Linked DNA regions of Homo sapiens: all the other regions are linked to region 1. The links are contacts of gene promoters, found by promoter capture Hi-C in blood cells and fetal thymus (Javierre and others, 2016). All regions are on one chromosome and are shown on one strand. The core of a region is centred on a gene start or on the middle of the fragment in contact, and the rest is flanking DNA. Distances in the headings are between cores, read along the strand shown. Region 1 holds the start of USP24 (ubiquitin specific peptidase 24). Region 2 overlaps NDC1 (NDC1 transmembrane nucleoporin). Region 3 has its middle 7.7 kb from the start of PLPP3. Region 4 overlaps PLPP3 (phospholipid phosphatase 3). Region 5 overlaps PLPP3 (phospholipid phosphatase 3). Region 6 overlaps LOC124904185 (a long non-coding RNA gene). Region 7 holds the start of LOC124904189 (a long non-coding RNA gene).

The links. Contacts are between HindIII fragments. The CHiCAGO score rates a contact against its expected background, and 5 or more counts as called.
Region 2: a contact is called between a fragment that was not itself captured here and the fragment with the promoter of USP24 in region 1, in 1 of 17 cell types (non-activated CD4 T cells). The highest score is 6.9, in non-activated CD4 T cells.
Region 3: a contact is called between a fragment that was not itself captured here and the fragment with the promoter of USP24 in region 1, in 5 of 17 cell types (fetal thymus, total B cells, neutrophils and 2 more). The highest score is 12.6, in fetal thymus.
Region 4: a contact is called between a fragment that was not itself captured here and the fragment with the promoter of USP24 in region 1, in 2 of 17 cell types (total B cells and M1 macrophages). The highest score is 7.2, in total B cells.
Region 5: a contact is called between a fragment that was not itself captured here and the fragment with the promoter of USP24 in region 1, in 3 of 17 cell types (total B cells, M0 macrophages and monocytes). The highest score is 8.3, in total B cells.
Region 6: a contact is called between a fragment that was not itself captured here and the fragment with the promoter of USP24 in region 1, in 4 of 17 cell types (M2 macrophages, M0 macrophages, M1 macrophages and 1 more). The highest score is 9.2, in M2 macrophages.
Region 7: a fragment that was not itself captured here is called in contact with the fragment with the promoter of USP24 in region 1 in 1 of 17 cell types (M2 macrophages); the score reaches 5.2 in M2 macrophages.

What each region holds. Positions count from the first base shown.
Region 1 is chr1:55,213,265-55,217,261 of GRCh38, forward strand. USP24 (ubiquitin specific peptidase 24) reads right to left here and starts at 2,100. Exons shown (of 68, transcript NM_015306.3): 1 at 1,526-2,100. The coding sequence starts at 1,849. LOC100507634 (a long non-coding RNA gene) reads left to right here and starts at 2,144. Exons shown (of 1, transcript NR_038320.1): 1 at 2,144-3,997. RefSeq lists an enhancer at 988-1,047 and silencers at 1,508-1,697, 1,768-2,277. The HindIII fragment of the contact is 9,819 bases long and covers 267-3,997 here.
Region 2 is chr1:53,832,435-53,836,431 of GRCh38, forward strand. NDC1 (NDC1 transmembrane nucleoporin) reads right to left here. Exons shown (of 18, transcript NM_018087.5): 2 at 3,066-3,186; 3 at 56-157. Among named protein-coding and RNA genes, the nearest start is that of NDC1, 3.9 kb to the right of the region's middle. The HindIII fragment of the contact is 1,168 bases long and covers 1,701-2,868 here.
Region 3 is chr1:56,585,280-56,589,276 of GRCh38, forward strand. It overlaps the pseudogene RPL23AP85. Among named protein-coding and RNA genes, the nearest start is that of PLPP3, 7.7 kb to the left of the region's middle. The HindIII fragment of the contact is 1,015 bases long and covers 1,437-2,451 here.
Region 4 is chr1:56,568,620-56,572,616 of GRCh38, forward strand. The region is part of intron 1 of PLPP3 (phospholipid phosphatase 3); the gene reads right to left. Among named protein-coding and RNA genes, the nearest start is that of PLPP3, 8.9 kb to the right of the region's middle. The HindIII fragment of the contact is 1,446 bases long and covers 1,328-2,773 here.
Region 5 is chr1:56,526,543-56,530,539 of GRCh38, forward strand. The region is part of intron 2 of PLPP3 (phospholipid phosphatase 3); the gene reads right to left. Among named protein-coding and RNA genes, the nearest start is that of PLPP3, 51 kb to the right of the region's middle. The HindIII fragment of the contact is 6,480 bases long and covers 1-3,997 here.
Region 6 is chr1:56,467,468-56,471,464 of GRCh38, forward strand. All of the region lies in intron 1 of LOC124904185 (a long non-coding RNA gene), which reads right to left. Among named protein-coding and RNA genes, the nearest start is that of LINC01767, 55 kb to the left of the region's middle. The HindIII fragment of the contact is 3,446 bases long and covers 131-3,576 here.
Region 7 is chr1:56,444,320-56,448,316 of GRCh38, forward strand. All of the region lies in intron 1 of LOC124904185 (a long non-coding RNA gene), which reads right to left. It overlaps LOC124904189 (a long non-coding RNA gene), which reads left to right and starts at 52. Exons shown (of 3, transcript XR_007066110.1): 1 at 52-133; 2 at 216-318; 3 at 1,301-1,416. The HindIII fragment of the contact is 3,443 bases long and covers 140-3,582 here.

The DNA of each region.
Region 1 (3,997 bases), core at 850-3,349:
TAAAAAAATTCCCAAACTAGGAATAGTAACAATCTTTATTTCCATATACTAGTCAACGATACAGCTAAGTTAGTGGGTTACAGAGGGCAATCTAGCAACTGTGTCTAAGTGTGGAAGCCAAAGAAATCTTGTGCAGAAACCTGTTCTTTTTAAGTGCCACCTTCTTGTTCAAGCTACTTCAGCCCGAGGAACTGTTGCAAAAGCATACAATTAAAAGGATATAACACTGCTCAGGAAAAAGTGTTTCAAAAGGCTTAGCTTCACTAAGCTTAATTCTTCATTAAGAACGAACCAAATTCGTATCTCTACCTAATAACGCAATCCCAATAATTTGAGATCTGTGCTTTTCTGTGGTCAGGCCAAGCTGCTCTACTGGCCCCTGAAATGAACTACCCAACGAATCTGACCAAAATTCCTGCCATGAGCTACTATGTTTCTGCAAAGTAATTATTCAAAAGCACTGCTGCTTCTGGTCGATCTTTTTTCTTTATTATAGAAGAGTCCGTTTTCTTCCCCCACGTTCCTTGCTCACACCCCAAACTAAACAGGCATAGTCTTCTCCACCTAGACTTGAGGTCTCTGATCAAAGCCATTAGCCTCAAGACTCCTCCTCCACCCCCACTGCGCTCCCACCCTGTTCCGCGCCCCTCTGCATAGCACCCTCAGTATGACTACCATCTCTTTCCCCGGTCTAATTTTCTCTCATTTCTGACCTTATCGATGACCAGTACTCCCTCTTTACCCAGACCTGGTGCCAGCTCTATCTTCCAATTCCAGTCCCCATCCCTGCCTAGACCCTCCTCAGCTCCCACCCCTGCCCAGGCCTCCCACCTCTGCCCTCTCAGTGCAATCCCCACTGCTCTCATACCTGATTTTATTCAAGTCCTCATTCCTGGCCGCGGCCCCTTCCCTCTTCATTTTAAATCCTACTCAATGCCCCCCCTTTCCGACCCTTGGCTAAAACCCCAACCTCACTCCTAACCCCAACAGTTTTCCTGTGATCCTGTCAAAGACCACTACTCTGGCCGGCCCACACCGCTTTTTCTGACTCTGAGCCTGGTGCCTCCGCCAATCCTTCACTGAAACCTCGTGCCACAAAATCTCCGACCTAGCCTAGTGCACTAGTACCCCATTTCCGACCCCCTACTGCACGCATCCTTCCCACTATATGCTCAAGTGTCTGTCCTCCCATCTCGGATGATAGCCCTGGAGCCTCCTCCCCATCGTCGGCGTGCATAGCCGGAAGCCTAAGGGACCCCTCCTCACCCCAACCCACAGCTCCGCTGCGCATCCCTAATTCCCTTTCACACGCCTCTCCTATGGGTCCCTCTCCCCACTTACCCCCAATCAAGTGACTTCGGTTCCCAACTGGAGCCTGGGGCTTCTCTCTCTCTCTCCGCCCCGCCCCCACTAAAGCCCCAGTCGAATGCCCTCTCTCCCCACACCAAGCCCAGCGGGGTGTGTCCCCTCCCAGGAACTCCAGCCCAGTGGCTTCCCACAGAGGTCTGGGGTTGCCCCTCCTCACCTCCGCGTCCACCACCTCGTGGTAGGCGGGCGGGGGGTCGAAGCCGCCCCCGCCTCCGGTGCTCCCGCCGCGGGAGGGGCCGCCGCCGCCGCCGTCACCTCCGCCGTCGCCCCGCGGGCCCCCGCCGGGCCCGGGGCTGGGGCCACCGCCGCTGTCCATGGGCTCGTAGCCGCCGTAGTCGAGGCCCGGCCGCTCGTTGGTGAGCAGTGCCACGGCCTCGTTAATGTCGTTCTTGGCCAGGCGCAGGGCCTTGCGGATGGTGGCGGGGTCTGAGAAGCCCATGCACAGCAGCGTGGTCATGTGCTGCTCCTCCTCCGATTCCATGGCTTGGGCCTCCTGGCCGCCCCGGCCAGCGCACGGCGAAGCTACGGGTCCCGGGCCTGGCGGGCCGCGCGGCGCACCCTCCGCGCCGCCTCCGCGCCCAGGTTGGCCCCTGCGTTCCTGCCCCGGGTGCTCCGCAGCAGCCGGGCCAGGCTGGGTGCGGGCTTGGGTCCTGCGAGCCGAGCTAGTGCGGTGAGGCGCTCAGGCGCGGCTGCGGCCCGGCCCAGCCCTGCGCGCCGCCATGTTGGCCTCCTCCCCCTCCGCCTCCTCCTCCCCGGGCGGCGGGGCCGCGCCTCGGCTCCCGGAAGCGGCACGGGAGGCGACCGTGCTCGCCGTTGGCAGGCTAGGGTTGGCGGCGGCGTATTCTGTTTGTTTTAAACGAAGGAGCGGAGGGAGGGGCCGCGCCGCGGAGCGTGCCTAAGGTGAAAGGGCTGCCGTGCAGCCAGGCAGAGGCGAGGAAGGCTTCTCCATCGTCGCCACCGCCCGCCTGTTTCGCCGGCAACAGGTTCCCCCGGGACGGGAGGGGCCGCAGCGCCGCGCAGCTCGCAGCGCTGAACGTCGCGGAAATCCCTTGGCCGGCCGAGCCTCCGCAGCCGCGACCCGGCTTCTCTCCGTCCGAGTCCCCCGAGCCTCTCCGAACCCCCGTTGGACTTCCCCTCCCTGGCCGGCGCCGCCCGACCCGCTCCCCCATCCTAGAGGGAATTCCCTGCGCCGCGGCTGTGAGGCACCTCCACCCCGGCCTGAAATGCACCGCAGTCCTGAAGGAAATCCACCCTCATCCCACGCAGATTCACCCGCAACGCTGCCTGAATACGCCTCGCTGCCCACAGAAATTCCTGCCCAAACCAGACGCGTGGACCACCCAAGACGAAATTCACACTCGACCCTAGCCCCGCCAGCCCTTGCCGAAATCACCCTAAACCCGTTGAAATTAATTCCCAGCTGTCCGAATTTTCCTTCCAACATTAACTGACTACCTGTCTCCGCCAAGCTGACTGAACTCTACCGAACTCTTACCCTGAAAGCCCCTGAGAGTCCAAAATATATTTTTCCAGCCCGAAATCTAAATCCCAGTTCTCTGTATGAAAACCTCCAGAAACCCAGACTCTTACTTCCTTCGGCCACGGACTCGTTCGAACATCGTGGACATCACCTTCCCACATTTTTACCGCAGTCTTTGGCTCCGATTCTTTGTCCCTGCCTCTTGGGCAGCATCCTATCCCTGTTTCTTTCCACCTTTGAGGATTCCTCTACCTCTTTAAAGGCCTGCTTTCTTTGCTTTCTCTTCTCACCTTTGGCATTGGCACACTGGGGTCATATCTTTAGTTCCCTTGACTCCACCATCTAAGCCAAGGGTGTCCAATCTTTTGGCTTCCCTGGGCTACATTGGAAGGAGAAAAATTGTCTTGGACCACATATAAAATATTCTAACGCTAATGGTAGCTGATGAAACTTTTAAAAAATCTCATCATGTTTTAAGAAGTTTACGAATTTGTGCTGAGCCGCATTCAAAGCCGTCCTGGGCCTAAGTCCTTGCTATTTTTCCTCTTCAATTTCCTTCAATCCATAGTTCTCTAGGTTATTTTCCCACCCTTTCCCAAGATTCGGATATCCCTTCATTCTTGCTGAGTTCATCTCCTATGCCTATTCCTACATACTTGCTGAGTTCATCTTCTAATGTCCTCATCCTGGTTTCTTCCTGAACCTGAAATCCAGCTAACCTTACTTTTTCATCCCATCAAACCCCTGCTGTTGCCAGCCCAGCACTCACGAAGATCTTTACATACACCAAATATTAAATTAGGGCCGGTACCTAGACATTGTCTCTGCACTCTGCTGGCATATTTTCCCCTGGACCACGAACCCTTCGTACCTAGTAACTTGCCACCTGTGTTTATAAATACCAGCAATTTGATTTACAGGGTGAATTTGTCACTATTGTTTACTTTTAAATGAAGTTACTGTATTTGTTGTTTCCATTAAAGGCGACATTATAAAGCCTAGGCCTCATATCCAAAGCAAATAAAGTCTCAATTTTTTAATTAAAAGTAACAAAAGGAAACCTCACACTTCTGAACAACAATGACAAGAAGGAATGCCTATAATTGGTTTGGGTCACAATGTACATATTGAAATAAAATTTTTATTAAG
Region 2 (3,997 bases), core at 1,035-3,534, 1.4 Mb before region 1:
CCCTTAGTTAAATAAATTCGCATATTTCTAAGAAGGTTAACATTTGAAAACTCACCTGCATAGAACTCCACATTGAAAATACTTATTATTATTATTACCACTGACAGCAGCAGGAAGTAAAAGATTACATAGGAACTATACAGGTCACTGAAAGAATCTAAAACACAAGAGAGATGAATTAGTAAAGGTTATTCAGTCATGTAGTCACGTTCAGGACACTGCAATATAAAAAGAGCTTGAACCACAATTGTCATTAATTTTAAAGGTTATCTTTTCTTCAAGAATTTAATTGTACACCACTGACAGGTTCAATGAGATATCAACTCAAGAACTACAGTGTGGGCTGGGCATGGGGGGATCACTAAGCCAGGGAGCTCAAGACCATCCTGGGCACATGACAAAACCCTATCTCTACAAAAATACAAAGATAGCCAGGTGTGGTGGTGCACACCTGCAGTCTCCAGCTACTCAGGAGGCTGAAGTGGGAAGATCACTTGAGCCTGGGAGTTTGAGGCTGCAGTGAGCAGTGATCATGCCACTGCACTCCAGCCTAGGCAACAGAGAAAGACCTTGTTTCAAAAACAAAGGGGGGGAGAAAAAAGGAGTTACAGTGTGAGTTATTCGTACCTGGCCCCAGGTACTTTAAAATTATACTACAATTTCTTAAATGACCCAGTTAACATCAGACAAAACACTAGAACATGGCAAAACTTTCTTTCTTTCTTTTCTCTGTCTTTCTTTCTTTCAAGACAGAGTATTGCTCTGTTGCCCAGGCTGGAGTGTAGTGGCTCAATCTTGGCTCACTGCAATCCGCCTCCTGGGTTCAAGCAATTCTCCTGCCTCAGCCTTCCAGTAGCTGGGATTACAGATGCCCGCCATGGCTATTTTTTGGGTTCTCACTATGTTGTCAAGGCTGGTCTCAAACTCCTGACCTCAAGTAATTCACCCACCTCGGCCTCCCAAAATGCTGGGATTACAGGTATGAGCCATCACACCCAGCCACGCATATGCAAATATTTAATCATGTGAAAGAGAAGTATCATCTTTAGTAATATACCAACAAAGTTTTTTCTTAAAATATAAAGAATACTTTTCAGATCTCTTCTTCATAAATGCAATTACCTCATATAGCTAAAGTAACATTTTTGGAAATAGAATAAGCCATACATTACATCATCTAAACGAGCGGAACTCAAAAACAAAAAAATCAGGATGCCCCCATGAAATACTAATACATTCACATTTTAGAGTAGTTCAACAATCGATATTCCATCTCAAAGTTTAAAATATATATATATAATGCCTAAAAATATGAATGAAATAAAAATAAGAGCATGTTTGCTAAGACTTAAAAATTAACCACTTATTTTTAAAAGTACAATTCATTGACCTAAATTTTTTTTTTTTTTGAGATGGAGTCTCACTCTGTCACCCAGGCTGGAGTGAAGTGGCGTGATCTCAGCTCACTGCAGCCTCCACCCCCCACTCCCCCTTTAAGCAATTCTCCTGCCTCAGCCTCCCGAGTAGCTGGGACTACAGGTGCATGCCACCACACCCAGGCTGGTCATAAACTCCTGAGCTCAGGCAATCCGCCCGCCTCAGCCTCCCAAAGTGCTGGGATTACAGGGGTGAGCCACCACACTCGGCCCATTGACCTAAATTAATGAGGAATATTTACTAAGCATCTACAATTAAACCCAAGCTTCTGATGAGGAAAATGGCATAAATCAAATCCAACCTGCAGAGAAAGTGTGATGAGGATTAAAAAACCTCTGGCCATGAAATGGCAAAAAGTTTTTGTCCCCAGTGCCAATTGTGAACAATTGGTAATGGCTCTCAAATACAAGATTGAGTACTCTAAGGTTGCCACCAGAGAGCCATGATCAGTGAGTGAAGCAGACACAGGTAAGGTGGCTATAGAAATATTTGCTATGCCTGTGCTGGCTTATGGCTTAATTTCACCTGACCAGTGGGACCTATCGAAAAAGTGATGGACGTACGTCAACAAGAAACTTAACACCAATATCTCCAAAGGTCATGGGTAAAGAGTCCAACTCCTTGAAAACTGGCATTTTCTTGTGAAAAACGAAATTAAAAACTCAACTTCCCACTTTACAAGGCAAAAGAAAGACCAATTTTCAATCCTAAATCAGTTACTCACTAGCTGGGTGTCTCTGCATGGATTATTTAACCTGAATCTCAGTTATCCCATTTATAAAGTAGAAAGTACCTCTTAACTACACAGAGTTACAGGAAGGATAAGAAGTAATATATGTAAGGAGCTGGCACACGGTAAACAGGCAATAATGGGTAGTTATTAACAGAAAACAAGTTAATTTTAATACATTTAGTAATTTTACTTAGTCTCTAAGGAATTTAAGGAACATTTTAGGCCAGGTGCGGTGGCTCACACCTGTAATCCCAGCACTTCGGGAGGCTGAGGCAGGTGGATTGCTTGAAGTCAGGAGCTCAAGACCAGCCTGGGTAACGTGGCAAAACCCCGTATCTACTAAAAATACAAAAATCAGCCGGGCGTGGTGGCGCGTGCTGAGGCACAAGAATTGCTTGAAGATGGGAAGCAGAGGTTGCAGTGAGCCAAGACTGAGCCACTGCACTCAGCCTGGGTGACAGAGCAAGACTCTGTTTCAAAAAAAGAAATCAAGTGCTCTTAATTTTAGACGTATTTTTAAAAGAGGTACATGTCATATTTTCTACCCACAATTTCGAATCGATGACAGGAACCATTCTGTATTTTAAAGAGACAAACAATCTCAATAAAGCTGCCCAAAGGAAAAACAAATGAAACTAAGTTTTCATTTATGGGGTCTTCTAATGATCTTTTCGTTCCTATGATCACAGTCTTTGACAAGCTTATTAATCTTATTACATAATAAAAAGGTGATTTATGTTACGAAGGAGACATCTTAAAATTATCTCAAAGTGAATGTTTTGATGTGTCAATATAACATAGGCAGTAATTGAAAATAAACTGCTTGAAACATAATGCAATTTTTATGTTGAGAAGTAGGTCCTATAACTTTCTCCCCAAGTTGAGTATCACCTACCAGACAGCCACTGTATAGGATGAAACAAATCAATCCTGCTGAAAATTATAAATACTGTGGTGCAGATGGGTAGAAATAGCACTGACCAAACAATACTTGCAACTATCCTCCAGCCCAAAACCTATAAACAAAAAGAAAAACCCTCACTCATGAAGTCAGTTAAATTATTTCAGTTATGCAAATCCTATCTTTTCATACAGGATGTTAACCACTAACTCAGATCATAATCCGTAACTCAAACATTCACTACTAGTAATAACATTACGTACCACTAAAGAATTTATAGTATCAGTGAGCTGATGCCTGCATTAGTACAAAGTTAGGTGCAACATCAAATATCATACTTTGTATGAGGGGTGGTGGGCATTGATTTACAGCTGTTTTAGAGCAACTAATACTTGTCTCTCTAGGCTTAATTGATAGCTATATTAATATATAAAGGCTGTACACATTTTATGGGAACCACCTGTATACTGTAACTGTATTTATAATCATCAGATATGAACCTTTACTGGGCAACTACGGCACTGTAGCATTCTATTCATGTTTGAATTGCCCGTATCTATCATATAGGAGGAAAATATTTACTGCTGAATAATACAAGAAGATATAGAGGGGTTTTAAGCATGAAAGTGACAATCAAATTCATGTTGCTCAAGGTAAAACATGTCTGTTTACTGAAAGCTGGCTTTAAGGAAGATGGAGGAGTTGGGACACGAACCAAACCAGAGACAATGCAGTTAGGAGGCAGTCCACCAAAAAGCTGAGGCCGGGCGTGGTGGCTCACATCTGTATCCCAGCACTTTGGGAGGCCAGGGTGGGCGGATCACTTGAGGCCAGGAGTTTGAGACCAGCCTGGCCAACATGGTAAAACCCTGTCTCTATAAAAAATTTTTTAAAAATTAGCCAGGCATCATTCCAGCCCGGGCAAC
Region 3 (3,997 bases), core at 694-3,193, 1.4 Mb after region 1:
GAGCATCTGCTATGTACCAAACACTCTTCTATAAGCTAGGGATATGGCAATGAATAAAACAAAAATTCCTGTCCTCATTGAACCTTTAGGCTTTAATTATTCGATACGTGTTAACTCCTTTAATATTCCAAGCATCCCTGTAAGGAAGGTTTTTTCATTTTACAGATGAGGCTACTGGGGCACAGGAAAGTTAAGTAACTTTAACTGCCAGGTGATAGAGCCTGGATTTGAACCCAGGCAGTCTGAGATAGGAGCCATCAAGTCTTTATTACTATTACTTTTAAATGATTATTTTTCTGGTGAATATTTAGAATTAGCCAGCTGGACTCAGCTTAGATGATCCCAGTTTTGTTGGCCACATCCGAAACGTAAATCAGGAGGCAATTGAACATATGTGTTCTCTCCACCAGGCCTGATCAGGGTGTTGACCTTGGCCACATCAGGGTCATAGAGCTCCTTCATAGCCTGTTTGATCTGGTGCTTGTTTGTTGGCCTTGATATCCACAATGAACCCAAGTGTATAATTGTTTCCTTTTTCGTTTTTGCACATTACTTCCTTTATAGTTTATCATGAAGACTTTCAAATATACAGAAAAGTTGAAAATAATTTACCATGAGCATTTATATGCCCACTCCCTAGAATCCACCATTAATACTTTATTCTACTTGTTTTATCACATATCTATCATTCTGTTATCCATCAATCCATCTCGATTGTCATGTTGTTTTCTATCTTCTTCATAGCAGACTCAGTGGTCAGTGGAACTGATGAGGCAGAGTGAGTAAGCTTGTTTCTCCTGGGGGTGCTCATCCAAGGATATTTGGGCTGCTTCCACAACCACAGTGCCTTGGGCCACCAGAAAGAGGGTGCCATATGGATCTTTTTTTTTTTGTGGCCAAAGCCTTTGTTTTGGCATCAGCTTCGGTGGGGGCAGGAGCTTCCTTCTTCATCTTCAGCGCCATCTTGTGAAAAGGCTAAGATGTTAATAATTAATCTGTAATGAATAAACTTTGTCTGTGTAAGGCAGCAGCCCCCAACCTTTTTGGCATCAGGGACTGGTTTTTTGGAAGGTAATTTTTCCGTGGACCGGGGAGGGGAGTGGGGGGATGGTTTCAGGATAATTCAAGCACATTACATTTATTGTGCACTTTATTTCTATTATTATTACATTGTAATATATAATGAAATAATTATACAGCTCACCATAATGTAGAATCAGTGGGACCCCTGAGTTTGTTTTCCTGTGACTAGATGGTCCCATTTGGGAGTGATGGGAGACAGTGACAGATCATCAGGCATTAGATTCTCCTCCTTGCAAGCGCAGTTCACAGTAGGGTTTGTGCTCTTATGAGGATCTGATGCCATCGATGATCTGACAGGAGGCAGAGCTCAGGCAGTAATGCGAGCTATGGGGAGCAGCTGTAAATACAGATGAAGCTTTGTTCGCTGGCTGGTGGCTCACCTCCTGCTATGCAGCCCAGTTCCTAACAGGCCACGCACCACTACTGATCTGTGGCCTGGGGGTTGGGGAAGCCTAGTCTAAGGCACACAGGAGAAAGATTAGTGGTTTCTGAAGTGGTACTTTAATTGTGTGCATCTGGGAGAAAAGAGCAGAAGGTTGTTTGTGTGCATGATGTGCACATATATATATAAACATTTATGCATTTATTCACCGAATTCAAATATATGTATATATATACACTCACTGTATACATATGTGTATATTTATTCAATATATATGTGTATTTACTTGCTCATTTAATCATTCATCAAATTTCATGATCACCTTTTCTATGCTAGGATTTATGCTAGGTGCTGGAGATAATCAAATTAATGCTTATGGCTTCTTTCTTCAAATGACTAATTTTTAGAAAAACATGTGAACAGGGCCAGGTGTGGTGGCTCACACCTGTAATCCCAGCACTTTGGGAGGCCAAAGCGGGTGGGCGAATCATGACGTCAGGAGTTTGAGACCAGCATGGCCAACATGGTGAAACCCTGTCTCTACTAAAAATACAAAAAATTAGTTGGGTGTGGTGGCAGGCGCCTGTAATCCCAGCTACTTGGGAGGCTGAGGCAGGAGAATCACTTGAACCCAGGAGGCAGAGGTTGCAGTGAGCCGAGATCACGCCACTGCACTCCAGCCCAGGGATAGTGCAAGACTCTGTCTCAAAAAAAAAAAGAAAAACATGTGAACCAATACTTGCAATATTATCATATTTCATTGTAAAGTTTAAATTGTTTTCTTCAAAAAACTATAATTTTCTTCATGAAATTTGATGAAATCATGAAATTTGATGAATGATTAAATGAGCAAGTAAATACACATATCTTCAGACACAAACCATACCATGTTCCTAACATGGTACATAATAATAAGGCTTCAAAAAGTAGTTGTTGAAAGAATGACTAGAGGAAAGTTACAAGCACAAGGTAAGGGTATCAGGGAAAGCTTCAACGAACAGATAAGTCATAGTTGCATAATAAAATTGAAAAAGATGTATAATAACTTAAGTACATAGAAGCACATGTGTGAAACCTGTATTTTACATCATTCATAACACCTAATCCCAGATGGATCATAGACATAAACATGAATAATAAAATGAAACTTCTAGAATAAGATGAAGGATAATATATTCATGATTTTGGGATAGGCAAACATTTCTTAAATAGTAATAAAAAAGCATTGATGACAAAAGAAGAAACGGATAAACTGAAATTCATTAAAATTCATAATTTGTATTTATAAAATACACCAGAGCTGCCAAACTATGGACTGTGTATTAGTCTGTTCTCCCGCTGCTATAAGGATATACCCAAGACTGAGTAATTTATAAAGGAAAGAGGTTTAATTGACTCACAGTTCCACAGGGCTGGGGAGGCCTCAGGAAACTTCTAATCATGGCTTAAGGGGAAGCAAACACGTCCTTCTTCACATGGTGGCAGCAAGGAGAAGTGCAGAGCAAGTGGAGGGGGTGGTGAAGCTCCTTATAAAACTATCAGATCTTGTGAGAACTAACTCACTATCACGAGAACAGGATGGAGGAAACCGCTTCCACGATTCAGTTATCTCCACCTGGTACCTCCCATGACACATGGGGGTTATGGGAATTACAATTCAAAATAAGATTTAGGTGGGGACATAGCCCAACCATATCAGACTATAAACTTAATCCAGCCTGTCAAGTGTTTTTGTACAATATGTGAGCTAAGAATAATTATTAAATTTTTACATGGCCGAAAAACAATCAAAAGAAGAATGATAAAGTTTTTGCTTATTCAGTAAACGTATTGTGTGTAGCTGCTTTTGCACTAAATGGCATAGCTGACTAGTTGCAAAAGAGACCACATGACCTGCAAAACCTAAAATATTTATTATTTGGCTCTTTACAAAAAAAGTTTGACCCCTAAAACATAAAATTAAGAAAATGAAAAGGTAAGCCGCAGATTGGAACAATACATGGCCAAAAAGGATATTCACTAAAAGGATGTATATTCAGAGTATGTAAAAGAACTCCTACAAACCGATAAGAAAAAGACAGACAAGCAAAGATGTGGTCTTTTTTTTTTTTTAAAAAAAAGGGGGGGGCAAAATTCTTGAATAGGCAGTTAACAAAAGAGGATATACAAGTGACCGATACACATATGACAAAGTGCTCAACATCATTAGTCATTAGGGAAATGCAAATTAAAACCACAATGAAATACCACTCCACACCAATATATACCCATCAGAATGGCTAACGTTTGGAAGCTTGACAATATCAAATGGTGAAGATATGGACCAACTGGAGAGATAATTGGTATAGCTACTTTGGAAAACTCTTGGGTAAAATCTACTAAAACCAAACCTATGTCTATTCGATGGCCCAGTAATTCCACTTCTAGGGATACGGCCATCAAAAATGATGACATTTGTCTACCAAAAGACTTGTACAATAAGGTTCATAGCAGCTTTATTCATGATAACTCACAAATGGAAACAACAGAAAT
Region 4 (3,997 bases), core at 801-3,300, 1.4 Mb after region 1:
ATATCTTTCTTTTTCTTTTCTTTTTGAGACGAGTCTCGCTCTGTCGCCCAGGCTGGAGTGCAGTGGCGTGATCTCGGCTTACTGCAACCTCCGCCTCCCGGGTTCAAGCAATTCTCTGCCTCAGCCTCCCGAGTGGCTGGGACTACAGGTGCCCACCACCATGCCTGGCTAATTTTTTTGTATTTTTAGTAGAGATGGGGTTTCACCATCTTGGCCAGGCTGGTCTTGAACTCCTGACCTTGTGATCCACCCCACTCGGCCTCCCCAAGTGCTGGGATTACAGGCGTGAGCCACCGCGCCCGGCCCTGTCATGTCTTTCTTATCCAGCCCTCTCTGCTCCCACCACAGTACCCTCGGTTCAGCTTGCACTTGCCACCCCACTGGTCTTTAGCTCCTCTGCCTCCCATTTGCCTACCCTCAAATCCAGTCATCTCTCCCAAACCCAAATAAGATTAAATTAATTCCCTCCTCCAATCTTTTCATGAATATGTTCATTCCAAAGGTCTTTTATAAAACTATTGTATTTTTCTTACATACTGTAACTAGCCTTTAGTTTTTTGTTTTTGTTTTTTTGAGATGTAGTCTCACACTGTCACCCGGGCTGGAGTGCAATGGCTCTCTCAGCTCACTGCAACCTCTGCCTCCCAGGTTCAAGTGATTCTCCTGCCTCAGCCTCCTGATTAGCTGGGATTACAGGCGCCTGCCACCACACCTGGCTAATTTTTTGTATTTTTGTTAGAGACGGGGTTTCACTATGTTGGCCAGGCTGGTCTCAAACTCCTGACCTCGTGATCTGCCTGCCTCATCCTCCCAAAGTGCTGGGATTACAGGTGTGAGCCACTGCACCCAGCCGCCTTTAGATATTTCTAAAATGGTGCAGCCACTATGAAAAACAGTTTGGCAGTTCCTCAAAAAGGTAAATGTGGAGTTACCATAGGACCCAGCAATTTCACTCCTAGGTAGTAGGTTTCTCTATGAAATCTTCCAAGATAAAAATAAAAAGAAAAACAAAAAGAAAACTTCATTTGCTCTCCTCGTTCACCAAAATAAAACTCAAATTCCTTAGCTGCCTGCCATACCCAGTCCCCTTTCATAATCTAGCTCTAACCTATCTCTCCAGCCTCATCTCCAATGTCCTCCTTTCTTCCCCCGCACAGTGCAAACACACAATATTGACATTCCAGCCTCCAGCTACTCACTCTTCCCAAATAGGTCCCTGCTTCCAAGTCTCAGCACCTGTGCTTCACTCTGCTGCAATACCTTCTCCCCCTTCCTGGCTTGTGAGCTATTATTTATCTTGCAAGACCCAGCTCCACACCCTCAGGCAAGCTTCATCACTCTTCACTGTGCTGCTAGAGTAGGCCCTCCCTTAAGGCTCCAAAGTCATCACTTATATAGTGTTTGTCATTAGGCAAAAGCCTGTTCCACTTTCACCAGCCTGGGAATTCCTTAAGGCCATGGAAACCCTGGGGCCTGGCATATAGTAGGTGCTCAAGAATCATCTGCAGAAGACAAGGCTTATACCTGAAAGACAGGTACAAACATAGGCTTAATAGGCTCTCTAGAAATTATACTGATTGATACCACAAACTAATTTGGGGGCCAGATATAAAGAAACCATCAATGAGAATGGTTTCCTTCGTGTCAATGTAATAGTGTATTATGTGTTTTAGGGATACATAAACAGGAACCAAAGCACACTACTTATTATGACAAGGCGCTTATAATGATTTGCATTTCTCTGCAAAACTCTTTAGGCATATAATTTTGTTAATTTGTGACAAACCTCAAAAACACACTTACCACCAATACCTTGATTGCAATATATACTTTCAAATCACACAGAAATCAAGTTCCTTTCAAAGGTTTCCAAAAGAGTCTGAAGTGCGTTGTTTTGTTTGGTTTGTTTTAAATTTGGGAATTTAAATGCAGATCATAATTTATAATTTAACCCAGACTTAAGGGAAGAATAATTTCACAAGGATGTTCAAGAACCTGACCTAGCCTTCTTTTGAATGTTGGCACTGACAATGCGTGACCTTGAGAAGTCTGTTTAATCTGAGACTGTTTCATCCTCAGTCACATGGGAATAAGGAGAGTTTGTTGAGAGGCTTTTAAAAAGCAAAAATAAATAAATAAATAATAAAAAGCAAAAACTTTGAAAACATGGAGTCTCTTTTTTCTCCCCTGAGATACATCATTTGAAAAAGGTGGCACCTGTTCCAGCTCAAATCATTCAGCAGTGATCTTGGTAATAAGTACTTTCCTGAAAAAATACCAGTTTGAAGAAAAGTAATATTTCAAAACACTGCCTAGTCCTTCACATTTGTCCCATGTATCTTTGGCTTCACTCAGCTAACATCCACTGATATGGATTAAAAGTTAAACCTGTTTGTCTTGTTCCTTTTTCTACTGACGCACGCAAGAGAGAAAGCTCTCCAGGGAACTCTCCTCATGAATAATATCAAATTTCAAACCAACAAGTCCACATCCGAAAAGCAGAATGGTAGAAAGGCAAGACCTTGGTTCTAGGTCCTCCTCTTTCACTGTCACTGGACAATTACTAACCAACCAAGACCTCTAGTTCCCATTTGTGAACCAAGGGCATTGACTAGGATGTGGTGATGATAATGACTGCAGCAACTACCTCTTGAGTGTCTCTATGCACCAGGCACTGTACTAGGCATGTCCCCACCACGTCACAGTGCACACAGAATCTCATTTCGTAAATGAGGATTTATGAGGCATCACAGAGATCAAGTAAACTTGCTTAAGCTTCTATGGCCAATAATAGTGAGCAGACTCCAGTCTGACTCCAAAGCCCGTGCTATTCCCCTCACACCTCTCTCCCTTCCCCAGCTCAAAAAGGCCTATTTTTCTAACTGACATTAAAAAATGACCTTGGTATCGTTGATAATGAAATCTCCAAGGTACTTCCAAATTCTAAAGATTCCATGAATCTAGGCAATGAGGAATTGCTCCAATGGTATTCTCTTTATTATGTCTACAGAGAAGCTTATTCATCAAGCTTTAAGCTGTTTTGCAATTATTTACATATTACTCTGTCTACTCCACTGCCCAATAATATCCTTAAGACCAAAATAAACAAAATGGAAAGAAATGAAAAAGACTGCTTTGATTGCATTAATTGCAATCAATTAATTGCAAATTGAAAAGTGGGGCAGCAAGGTAACCTGACAAGAGCTCTGGAAAAGTTGGTGACTGCTTTCTAGCTGGGTGCCCTTGTGCAAGTTACTTAACATCTCTGAGCTACAGTTCCCTCTTCTATAAAAGGGATCGTCTCTATACCACATGATTGGCCTGTATAATAAATATGGTAGCCTAGCTCAGTACCTTCCTTCCTCAGCAAATACAGAGGGTCCCCTAGATGACCAGCGTTTCGATCATTTCCAATCATTTCTGGTTTTTTTTTTTTTTTTTTTTTTTTGAGACAGAGTCTCGCTCTATCACCCAGCCTGGAGTGCAGTGGCGTGATCTTGGCTCACTGCAGCCTCTGCCAACTGGGTTCCAGCAATTCTCCTGCCTCAGCCTCCGGAGTAGCTGGGATTACAGGCACACACCACGATGCCCGGCTAATTTTTGTATTTTTAGTAGAGACGGGGTTTCACCATGTTGACCAGGCTAGTCTCGAAATTCTGACCTCAGGTGATCCACCTGCCTCAGCCTCCCAAAGTGCTAGGATTACAGGCGTGAGCCACCACGCCTGGCCTTGCTGTTCTTTTAGTTTGGTTTTCCTCTGGGCTGTTGAATGACAGGAATGACCCAAGTGAGAGTTGACCCTAAAACAGACCACGTGTCTAAATTCTCTCCCACCCTTCCTAAGGCATATCTGTCTTTCTCTCAAGATAATATGGCTTTGTCCCTTTCAAAGGGGAAGAATGCAACCACCAAAGCCTATTGAGGTTCCTGCACTTTGACTTTCCCAGAAAGGGTCAGGAAACCTGCCACTGCTTTTCTTCAGCTAATGGAAAACATT
Region 5 (3,997 bases), core at 583-3,082, 1.3 Mb after region 1:
TCATGTTCTCTTAATCTTTTTTATTCTTCCTTATTTATAAGTCATATGAGATTTTTTATGCAGGAGGAAGAGCACTGAACTAGGAGTCAAGTAGCCGAGGTTCAAGTCCCTACTTGTTTAGTGAATTTGGGATAAATTGGTTTCTGCATTTGCAAAACGAGGGTGCTAGACTCTGATTTATGACTTCATAACTGCAATGACATTTATTCTCAACTTTCCTGGGCTACGTCCACCATCCACCACTAGCCTGCCAACCAAGCACAGGTAATAAGCAATGGCAGAGGAAAGTTACTTGCTCAGAGATGACACCAGAAGCAGGGAGCAGAACCAAGGCCCCAGATAAAATCCCTGACCTCAGATTGCTCTCTGGTTCCCTGAACCAGACACTGCTACAGATTAAGGAACTGTTTCTAAGCAGGTGTGGCCTGAGGATCAGTCAACACGATTTCCTGTTTGATGCTGAGAAAGAACATGTGAGTTTCCAATGCAAATTAGCATCTCTTTTATGAATTTACTGATTAATCTCAGATGAGTCACCTTTCTGCTCCAGTTACTTTAGGGAGACGGGGTTTGATTACAATTCAGGGATTCTTTTCAGCTCTAATGTCCCATCTCTAAAACTTCCATTTTTAGTGTCACAGTCTTAAGATAGTAAATTGCAAAGTAAAATGTTTCCTTCACTCAAGGGAAAACAAGGAGATGAAAAGAACATTTTGCAGTACCTCAAATTCCTAATAATAATGTTAACAGCAGCCATCTCTTACATTTATTTTGTACTGTAGTTTCATTGAATCTTCTCTGTGAAGAAGATATTCCATTCTACAGATGGAGATACTAAGGCTCTGGGAGACAGTGACTTTTCTGAAGGATTTGAGGCCAGTAAGTGACAGAGTTAAGAGTAGAGCCCAGGTATTCTGACTCTTAAGCTCAAAGACCCACAGCAGACTACACTGAGATAATTTTATCATTTCTATTGTTATTAAAACCAATTTCCACTGCAGAAGAGCAATTGCAGATTTTTAAGGAGAGGGCCAGGCTGAAGCCATTTAGCAGACACATGACTCCAGGACCACATGGCTTCTGGGGCAGCCTTGACAGATTTTAGAGTGAATGAGCAACAAATTATGTATTTTCTCTATCCCCTTGTACAGAAGGGTCAGGGAGTCGACAACACAGCCATAAATCATCATTATGAACCAGGCGGACTTGGCTTCTTGTAATCCTAACCCTTAAAAGTCTATTTAATGAAATTTGGGTTGTGAAAGGCAGCCTGAATACCTCACCTCTACAGACGAGGCGAAGGCTTAAATTGTTCTCCGACACGTTACACACCTAACTCTCGAGTCCCAGATTTACTGCTTTCGGACTTTATTCATTACTCACAATGTTTTTATTCCTGGGTAAGAAAATAAGCTCTTCCCTCCCCCTCCTCCTACAAAGACTCTGTCCCCACTCCCAGACTCCTGCCCCTAGAGCCCTCATTTCTGCCTCAGTCAGCAAGGTTCTGATATGTAAATTTCACTGCTGAGAAAAATGCCTTCAATGTTGATCCCTTTCTGAAACAGCAAGCAACAGATTCTGGGGGTGATGGCAGGCTGCCAGGCAAGCAGAGAATTCTCCCCTACCTGCCTTTTAAAGCACTTGGCACAGAATCTGGAAACTAATAAAATGGGAAAGCATTGCAATTAAGCTACAAGGGGACAGAAAGGGATCAGTCCTTGCCTGAGAAGGGCTGCAGTTTGGAGAGAGGTTGGCTCCAACTGCAAGACAGCTCCTCTTCCTGTCTTTTCTGGTGAAAAAGAGCTCAACTGCCCACATATTTACAAATATTTAACTGTTATGGAGAGGAAATATGAAGAAAAATTAGGATAGATTTTTGGGAAAAGATAGAGCAAGAGGTGGTGAAAGAAGCAACAACGTTGTAGCCAGAAAAACCTGTCTGAATCTTGTCTATTACCTTAGGCATGTGACTTTACCTCTCTGGGCTTAGATGTCCTCATCTATAAAATAAGGTTAATAATATCTATGTGGCAGGATTGCCAGGGAATTAGATAAGGTGATATGTCAATCGCCTGGCACCTAGCAGGAGAGCCCTCCAAAAGTTAACTTTTTTCTTCCCTCCATTGAAGAGGAAAGCAAACAAACAAATAAAAAACATGTTTTGTAGAGAGTATCTCTTCCAAGAGCTCCTTGGACGATACCATACCTAAATGAAGAGTTTGGAAATACCACCCCTCCAGGGTAGGACCAGAAAATGTATGTATGGATGACATTGCTTTTGATCATTTTATCTAGTATGTATTTTTCAGCAGATCAAGACAGAAGCAAAGTCTAAACCCAAAGCAGAAGGGACAACCCTACTCTACTGTTTTGTGTTATTTTTAACATTCCACTCTATTTGTAAATTATCCCAAGAAAAGTAATATTTTTGCACAGCAGCCTAACAATCTCTTTCAGAGACTGAGAACTCATCTTCCACCGCTGAGTCTGAAGGACAAACTTTCCTATACTCTGATCTGCTTTAATAATATTGGCTTAGTACTTTACAGCTTTCAAAGCACTTTCACATCCACTATACTGTTTGCTTCTCACAACACCATATGAATTACTAAATTATTACCAACACTTATATAAATGAGTATGATGAAGGCCAGAGAGGGCAGTGAATCACTCTGATAAAAATGAGACAGCAAGAAGACCATCACTGAAGCTGGGGCTTCCTCCTTCTAATTCCTGTGCTGTTCCCAATGGCATCGAGCTGGCTTTCTCTTAGAAGTCCTACTAGGCAGTAGTATGTATGTCTCCAGAGAGACATATGTTCACAGAACACCCAGTAAGGGCCTGCCATCTTGAAAGGCACCTGCACCTCTAAGTTCCTGCTAGCCACAGAGGGTCAAGTTGTTCTTTTACATCTCGGTTACATGAATTGATGAACTTCTTTTGCCCAGAAAAGATTAATTCAACAAACTGTTGATGATGGAGAATCGTGAAGGGAGAATCACATTTCTCACTTTAGTTCTCAGTCCCAAAGGAAAGGAAAAATATAATGTACTGGGTCCTGTTTCTAAGGATGGAGACAGATGTATGGCTGTATTTTCTCTGGCACTGACTGCTCCATCTACTGCAATAAAGTGCAGCGTCTTTAGTAACTAGAAATAGTTGATTGGAAATTTATTCTCTGATTCTTCTGTCACTTGGTTATCATCTTCAGCCTTTTTCAGAAGATCAGTGCCTCACTGTCTGGGAAAGGTAATGAAGACATAGATCTGTCCAAAGACACCAGTATAATTTCTGGGCTTTATGGGTAAGTCAGAACTCCAATATCTAGAATAAAGACAGCAAAGAGGCCAGAGAGGGGCTACAGAAGTTATTTATGGTTGAAATTAGCAGTGGCTGCCCTGTGCCCACAAGTCTCATGAAGAAGAGAGTCTGAGGCATAAAGCATCATTGTTTTCCCAAAAGTCAGGGACTCAGAGTCATGGGCCTCCTGAATGCCCAACTCTGCCAGTCCATGCAAGAATCTCCTGGCTGTTCTTTCTGCAGCATTGCCTACTGCAACCTCTTACTCTTTTTTTTTTTTTTTACCTTGAATTTCCTAGGCTTCCTTAATATCACACCACCATGCTTTTGTTACTATTTCTAAATGTATGTCTGCTTCTTCTAGTGGTTCCACATCTGACTTCTACCCAATAAATGTGGGTCTTCCCTAGGATTGTGTTCCTGGCTTTCTGCTGTGATCTCAGCTGCTTCAATAGCTTCAATTGTTACCTCTGTGAAGATGACCTTCAAAAGGGCATCTCTCTGTCTCTCTCTAGCTTCAGCCTACCCCTTTCCCCTAATTGGCCCAATTCCAATCTTCTGCTAACTCTCCCACCTGGAGATGTTAGTACCATTTCAAATTAACCAAGTCTAAGGTCACACCCATTCCCACTCCTGTCCCAAACTTCACTTCTCTTCCCTCTAGTTCTGCTCAAGATGCCACCAAGCATATGACTGA
Region 6 (3,997 bases), core at 604-3,103, 1.3 Mb after region 1:
AAAAAGATTAAAAATTAGGTATAAGGTGAATTTAGAAAGGTCCCATGCAAGTGAAGCGCCCTGGAGTTCAAGCCTCGGAGCTTCATACTTTATCTGTCTCTGGGCTCAGTAAAGATGTGTCACAATAAAAAGCTTCAACAGCCTCAATATGTACTAGAAAGACTGGATTTAAATCCAATCTCTCATCTCCCTTTGGGCAGGTGAGTTCATTATCTGCACATTGGTATTTCTGCATATGTAAAAATGAATTTATAATACCTGCCGTGTTAAGGTTGTTTTGCACTGAAGATGTATTTAGGTAACCTGAAAATATACCAAATATTTGTTTACTTGCTTATTGTCTGTGTTCCCCACCACAGTCTAAACCCCATGAAGAAAGAGACTTTGCCTTCGTCATTGCTGAACGCCTCTTGTCTAGAATAATGTCTAGAAATTGTTGGGTGTTCAATGAATGTTTATTGATTGAAACAATATAGTACCTCCTCATATCTGAAACAATGGTGCCTGGTATCCATTGATAGGTTAAGTTCTCCCAATTTTAACTCTTACTATTATTAATAAATTTTAGTTAAATGAGTAATAAGGAGAAAGAAAATACAAATATCAGAAGAGATAAAAACCACTCATAGACTCTGGAGAGCAAAGTAAATCAAATTTCATATGATCCGAAATGTTTTCAGACCTAGAATTTTTTTTAAAAATCTTTAAAAAAAAAAGATCGGAGGCTGAGGCAGGCAGATCACGAGGTCAGGAGATCGAGGCCACCTTGGCTAACATGGTGAAACCCCGTCTCTACTAAAAATACAAAAAATTAGCCGGGCGTGGTGGCGGGCGCCTGTTGTCCCAGCTACTCAGGAGGGTGAGGCAGGAGAATGGCATGAACCCAGGGGGTGGAGCTTGCAGTGAGCTGAGATCGCGCCACTGCACTCCAGCCTGGGCGACAGAGAGAGACTCCATCTCAAAAAAAAAAAAAAAGAAAGAAAGAAAAGCAAACAAAGGAACAATGCACACGTATCCACACAAGGAACACCGAAAATCCTTCAGGCAGTAAGTTGAGTAAAAGATAGGAAAGCCCCAGAAATTTGACATGGCTTCACTGGTGACCAAGACAGCATATTTATTCATTGTTCAGCAGCTCCCTTCTTATTCTCCAAGGAGTGGAAAGCGTTGCTGAGTTCTGGACGAAAGCCTCTCCCGTCAGCTGTTTAAGAGCATTGCTGTCATTAGACAACCTCAAATCATGTCAAGCCCCAGTCTCTGCCAGCACCGAGCTGAAAAGCCAATCCTCCAACTTAGCTCTGAACTCTTCACCCCAATCAATTAAGAGCGATCCCATCAAAAACCCCAAATAAGTTTGCTTGGCCTGACCTTGACGATTCTAGTTAAAGAGACATCGCTCCTCCTGGAAGAATCTATCATTTTTAAATGGCTCACATGATGGCTGAGGAATTCAGGGAGAGTTAGACTGAATCCCAGCACCCGAGAGCTGAGAGAGACCTCGGCACTCAGAGTCCATTTTTCACTACAGAAGAGGAAACTGAGGCTCAGAGACAGCGACTACCTTTCTTGAGGTCATATAACTTGGCGATTATTGTTGTGAAAATGTATTCCTTACACCAGTCAGAATGGCTATGATTAAAAAGTCAAAAAACAACAGATGTTGGTGTGGATGTGGAAAAAAGGGAATGTTTATACACTGTTGGTGGGGAAGAAATTAGTAAACTAGTACAACATCTAGGAAAAACAGTATGGAGATTTCTCAAAGAACTAAAAATAAAATTATCATTTGACCCAACAACCCCACTACTGGGTATCTACCCAGTACTTGTACCTGTATTTGTATGTCTATTGCAGCACTATTCTCAACAGCAAAGTCATGGAATCAACCTAAGTGTCCATCAGCAGCTGAACTGATAAAGAAAATATGGCTGGGTGCGGTGGCTCACACCTATAATCCCAGCACTTTGAGAGGTTGATGTGGGTGGATCACTTGAGGCCAGGAGTTTGAGACCAGCCTGGCCAACATGGTGAAATCCCATCTCTACTAAAAATACAAAAATTAACCAGGCCTGGTAGTGCACACCTGTAATCCCAGCTAGTCGGGAGGCTGAGGCAGGAGAATCACTTGAACTCAGGTGGTGGAGGGCTGCAGTGAGCTAGCTGAGTTCACACCACTGCACTCTACCCTGGGTGACAGAGCAAGGCTCTGTCTCAAAAATAGATGTATATGGTACATATACGCCATGGAATACTACACCACCAATTAAAAAGAATGAAATCATGTCTTTTGCAGCAACATGGATGGAGCTAGAGGCAATTATCTTAAAAGAAATAACTCAGAAACAGAAAACCAAATACTGCATGTTCTCACTTACAAGTGGGAGCTAAAGAATCAGTACACATGAACATCTAGAGAGTAATAACAGAACTAAGGGCTCCAAAAGGGGGAAGCGTCAGAGGAAGAGAGGGTTGAAAAATTACCTGTTGGGTACAATGTTCACTGTTTGGGTGACAGGCACCCTAAAAGTCCAAACCCTACCACTACACAATATATCCATATAACAAACCTGCACATGTACCCCTGAATCTATAAAATAAAACTTTTTTTTTAAAAAAGGATTATTTAGCTTTCTATTCAGTTCATTAATCATCACACTTGACCGTGCCAGTGACTGACTCATGATTCAAGAAGAGCTTGCTTCCACTTCCCAGAACTTGTTCCAGTTTCTCATTCTGCTTCCTATGCACTGTGTGAACTTGGACAAGTGACTTCACCTCCTGAACCTCAATTTTCATCCTTCAAAAGATGCGATAATAACATTTATTTCACACGTGTGTTATCAAGAGGAAATGAAAAAGCATTTAATTAAAACTGTTACTTTTAGTGCTTAATAATTGTTAGTTTCCCACCTTTTTCCTTTCTTCCTTCCTCTCTCTTTCTATTCCTTCTTTTCTTTTCCCTTGCTTCCATGCTTTCTTTCTTCCTCTGTTCTTAACAAGTACTGTAATGAATACAAAGAAGTTTAACAGAGGATCCTTGCTCAAAGGAAGTTAATCTCCAGGTGGCTTCAGTTTCCTCATCTATAAAATGTGAAGGTGGGAATGGATAACTTCTCCAGATATGTCCTCCCCTCACCAATTTATCTGCAGTAACACGTGTACATACGTAGTCAGCACAGATTACCAAGCACCTCTTTTCAGCCAGATCCTGAGCTAAGCTACACGGATAGATAGATTTACACTCCCTGTCCTCCACAAGCTCACAGAAAAATTGTAGCTGAAGACAAGGGGGAAGAACCTACAGTAGGCATGCAATTTATATAACTATTTTAAAGAGTTCAGATGTCAAGTAGAGAAAGGGGAAAATAGCCACGTCAGAGTCTACTGATGAGACAATCAGAGAGGGAAACACACAAAGTACTGTAGCTCTTGTCTGATTAAAAAGTACACACAAGTGTTAAAAGGAAGTAAAAGTTCACCACTCAGGGCAAATTATTTACAGGCACCAAATATTCTGAAGGAAATCTAAGGCATACCAACTACTAAATGTATTCAGTCTTCTAGGTTCTATGGTTAAGCTTGGTAGGAAAAAAAAATACAAAACCATACAATACTGGAAAGAGAGAAAGAGAAAGAAAGAAAGAAAGAAAGAAAGAAAGAAAGAAAGAAAGAAAGAAAGAAAGAAAGAAAGAAAGAGAAGGAAGAGATGGAAGAAAAGGAAGAGGAAGAAAGGAAGGAAGGAAAGTAACTTTGGTTTACACTTCTATGTACTCAGTTCCATACCAGGCCCCTTCACTGATATTATTCCATGAATGAAAGAAAAGAAGGAGAGAGGAAAGAAGGGGAAGAGAGGTGTGGGGTAGGGACAGGGAGGATGGAGAGGAGGGAAGAAGGAGGGACAAGAGGAGTGAAGGAAGGGAAGAAGGGAAGCGAAGAGAAGGTAGAAAAAGAAATGGAAGAAACTTGCAAGATGGATATTACCTTCCTTTTAAACGTG
Region 7 (3,997 bases), core at 611-3,110, 1.2 Mb after region 1:
GTCTTATTGTCCCTGTTTTGCAGGTGTGGGGACAGAGCTGAAGACCAAGCAACACAGGTAGCACCTCTGAGGTTGGTGGGGACCCCAAGACCACCTACCCACAGGAAGTAGGACTCCCTCCTAACCATGTGAGGTACAAAGCTTTTGCCAACATCAGCTTGGCTTAAGTATCGGCACTCTTTCTGGCTTCATTCTCCTTTCTTCTATATCTACAGCTAAGCTATAAAGACCAGCATGGCGCCTGGGATTACTATGGATTCAAAAAACTTTGCAAAAATATTTTGGAGGCTGGACTCATCACCAGGTACCCATCATAAGGTAAAGAACAGGCAACCTCTACAAAGCCTCAACTAGAGCAGGTCTCGCCATTATACATAAGTTCCATTGCATTTACCTTAGAGCACTCATAATTATACCTATTGGGAAGATGAAGCCCGTAGAATTCATGAGGGTAAGAATAATGCCTGATTTGCTCACCACTGCATCCTCAGTGTACTTGATTTATACTTATTGAATAAATAGAAGAATTAATAGGACTGTTTTACCTGGAAGATATGTGTACAGTATAAATTGCAACAGGAAGGAGCATTTGAAAGAAGTCAGGTAGGTACACATTGGGGAAACTCAGACCCCGCTGGCCAGGATTTGTGAAGTCCATACAGCGATAAGGAGACTAAGGTAAGGTTAGTTACAGGCTCCCACGAGAGCAAAGCTCCACCTGAGTTCCACCTCCACCTCTGCCCCAACTCACATTGCATAACCTTGGGAGGTGCCATCACCTTCCTGGCTCATGTCTTCCTCACCTGAGATGTGCAGAGCTTGGATCAGGCTCACAACTTGCTTCCAGATCTGATATTTACATTTCCCTATTGGCTAATACCTCTTGGCTAATACCTCTTCCTCCAACTTTTAAGGACATTTTGAAATAGTTGAAACTGTTCTAAATATTAGAATATTGAAGACAGCTACTGAGGGTATAACACATATTGACCAACCTCTACCTCAGAATGATCCAAAGACTAAGGTAATTCAAAGGGGAAGAGAAGTCCCAGATATTAGAGTTAGGTGGCTTAAATGCCATCAGAGGGACTTCCAAGTGCCCTCTTGTGAGTGCATGCGTGAACTCTCTCCCTTTCTCTCTCAGTCACACACACACACACACACACGCGCACACACACACACACACGCTAATCTTGCTACACTCATCTGAACCAAAAAAAGAAAACAAACAAACAGACCTAGACAGTGAGTTGCGAGAGGGATTTGCAATTTACTATTCTATCTATTCCCTTCTTTTCAGGTCTTTATTCATTCAAAGCCTTGATCAACTGAGCACTAAGCATCACCTCATCAAAATCACCTGGAGTGCAGTTGGAGGCTGCAGTGAGCTATGACTACACTACTGTGCTTCAGCCTGGGTGATAGAGCGAGACCCTGTCTCAAAAAAAAAAAAAAAATCACCTGGAGGAGTAATAACAAGTTTGTTAAAATGCAGATTTTAGGCTCCCCCAAAGATCTTCTAAATCAGATTTTTTACCCATACCTCACTACCCCCACTTCTTTTTTTTTTTTTTTTTTTTTTTTTTTTTTTTGAGACAGAGTCTCACTCTTGTTACCCAAGCTGGAGTGCAGTGGCGCAATCTCTGCTCACTGCCACCTCCGCCTCCCAGGTTCAAGCAGTTCTCCTGCCTCAGCCTCCTGAGTGGCTGGGATTACAGGCACCTGCCACCACGCCTGGCTAATTTTTGTATTTTTAGTAGAGACAGGGTTTTGCCATGTTGGCCAGGCTTGTCTCAAACTCCTGACCTCAGGTGATCCACCTGCCTCGGCCTCCCAAAGTGCTGGGATTACAGGCGTGAGCCACCACACCCGGCCTCAGCCCCCATTTCTTAAGCCTACTAAAGTTTTAGATTATGTAAAATGCTTAGCACAGTTAAGAGACTGTTCACATATGCCAGGCACCTTATCTAGTAGCTGGAAGCATACGAAATTGCCAATTGCCAATAGTCTATCATTTTTGACCTTTAAAAATGGCAATTTCATATGGCTCAACCGAATGCATTGGCTAGATCTCATCCCAACCTTCCAAGCAGACATAGTTATTCCTAGTTTACAGTAAAGACCATGAAACTCCAAGGGGTTAAACATCTTGCTGAAGGGCACAGCTCTAATGAAAGGCACAGGTGGGATTCCAGTGCAAGTCTCTTCTGCCTGCAGCCTTGGTTCCTCCTTCTGTTCTCCAGCAATCCACCACTGCTCCTCAGGACGACTGCAAACACCAGACGGAAGTGCATCATTTTGGCCACAGTGTCCCAGGTCGAAACACCACCTCTGACTCCAAACAGAGCCATGAGTTTGTCCCTTGAGGCTCGGGCTATGTGCACAAGTTTTCAGAATGCCTTGTTTCTTGTCAAAAACTAAACTGATGTTTTTCCTGGCATGGCTTTTGGAAGGGAGCATGATTGCTGATTAAATATGAAGTGGTTTGAAACCTAAGTGTCTCTCTGAATAACGTAATGTTTACTCCCCACAAGGAAGGCATGCCAAGGGGCTGTCTCATAGGGGTTATTTATGTGTCCAAGTCTCCAACAACCCCTCTGGAAACTGTTGCAGTGATCCTTTTGGGTTTGACACCCCCTGAGGGATCTGTGTCCTGAAGTGGCCTGAGGGCTGGAAGGGAGTGTTCTGTCCCCAGCACCACCAGCTCTGCTGATGAGCCCTGAGCTGGGTACACTGTACCTGCCCAGAGAGGCTAGAGACTTGCAGACACATTTCCCTGTTCCCTTACTCAGAGTAGGGAACCCTAGCCTGTGAGGCTGCAGAAGGAATCCCGGAGGATAGTGGAAGGAAGGAGAGCAGCGTTGTCTAGGAGGGCTCTTATGTCATCTCTGATTCCTCAAAGACCCTCAACGTGGTTGTTCTTGTTGCCATTTCACAAATGAGAAAACCAAGACCCATAAAAGTTAATTCTTTTCTCAAGTTCACACAGGATTTGAACCCAGGCCAGTCTGATTCCAAAGCCCCTCTTTATTTCAGGAAGGAAGGAGAGGCAGGAGGAAAGGGGAACTTATTTTATGCCAAGTATATGCTAGGGGCTTCTCTTTCCATTATCTTTTCTATGCTTTCTGCTACTCCTGGGAGGAAGGTATCATTACGCTTATTTCACAGGTAAGAAAACTGAGGTCCAGGGTATTGGAGTTTTTGCCCAGGATCACTCAGGTAATAAATAGCAAAACCAGGCTATAGCCCAGGCTGGTTTACATTTCCTACTCCTTCACGCTGACTCTTTAGTGATGAGTCCCACAGTCTGGGTCTCTTCCCAACCATGACACTTGACCTCAGTTTCCCATTCTGTATCATGAAAAGGACGTAAGCATCTCCCAGGTTTATAAACCTGATATAGCATAGGCCCATTAGTACAGTCTCCCCATGTTGGAGAGACAACATGGCTCCTAACTGAATTATAAAATAGTGTTCAAGTTGCTGGCCCTTGAATTGTCTTTCAGAGAAAACATATCTCAGAAGATATAAAAAGAATTAGCCTCATTCCCCAAGGAAAGATTGAGAGAGGGACTGGCAAGAAGCTTCCAGAATTCCTTGGAAAGTCCCTGAAATAGCTCATATGGCCACCTCTCTCAAGCAGAGCAGGATAAGTGTGGCAATTTGGGGCTGTCCTGAAGTGATTCTCGGCTTGCTTAGAAGCTGAGCAATATTTTCTACCCACCTGCCTGTAGCAAGCCTACTCCCAGGTCATCACCCCCAATTTCGTCATCCTTTTCCATGCTCCCATATCAGCAAGAGTTGGGGCTTCATGAACCCCTTGAAAACATTCAGCTCTGGGGCCATGAGTCATAGTAGAGGCTACACTAGACTAACCCCCAGAAAGAAAAGGACTAATAAAATGAAACTCCCAAAAAGAAAGGACAGTCACTAATTGGTCATCGTCCTCGTATATGCCAGGTGCATATTCAATAATCAAAATAACCCATAGTGCAGT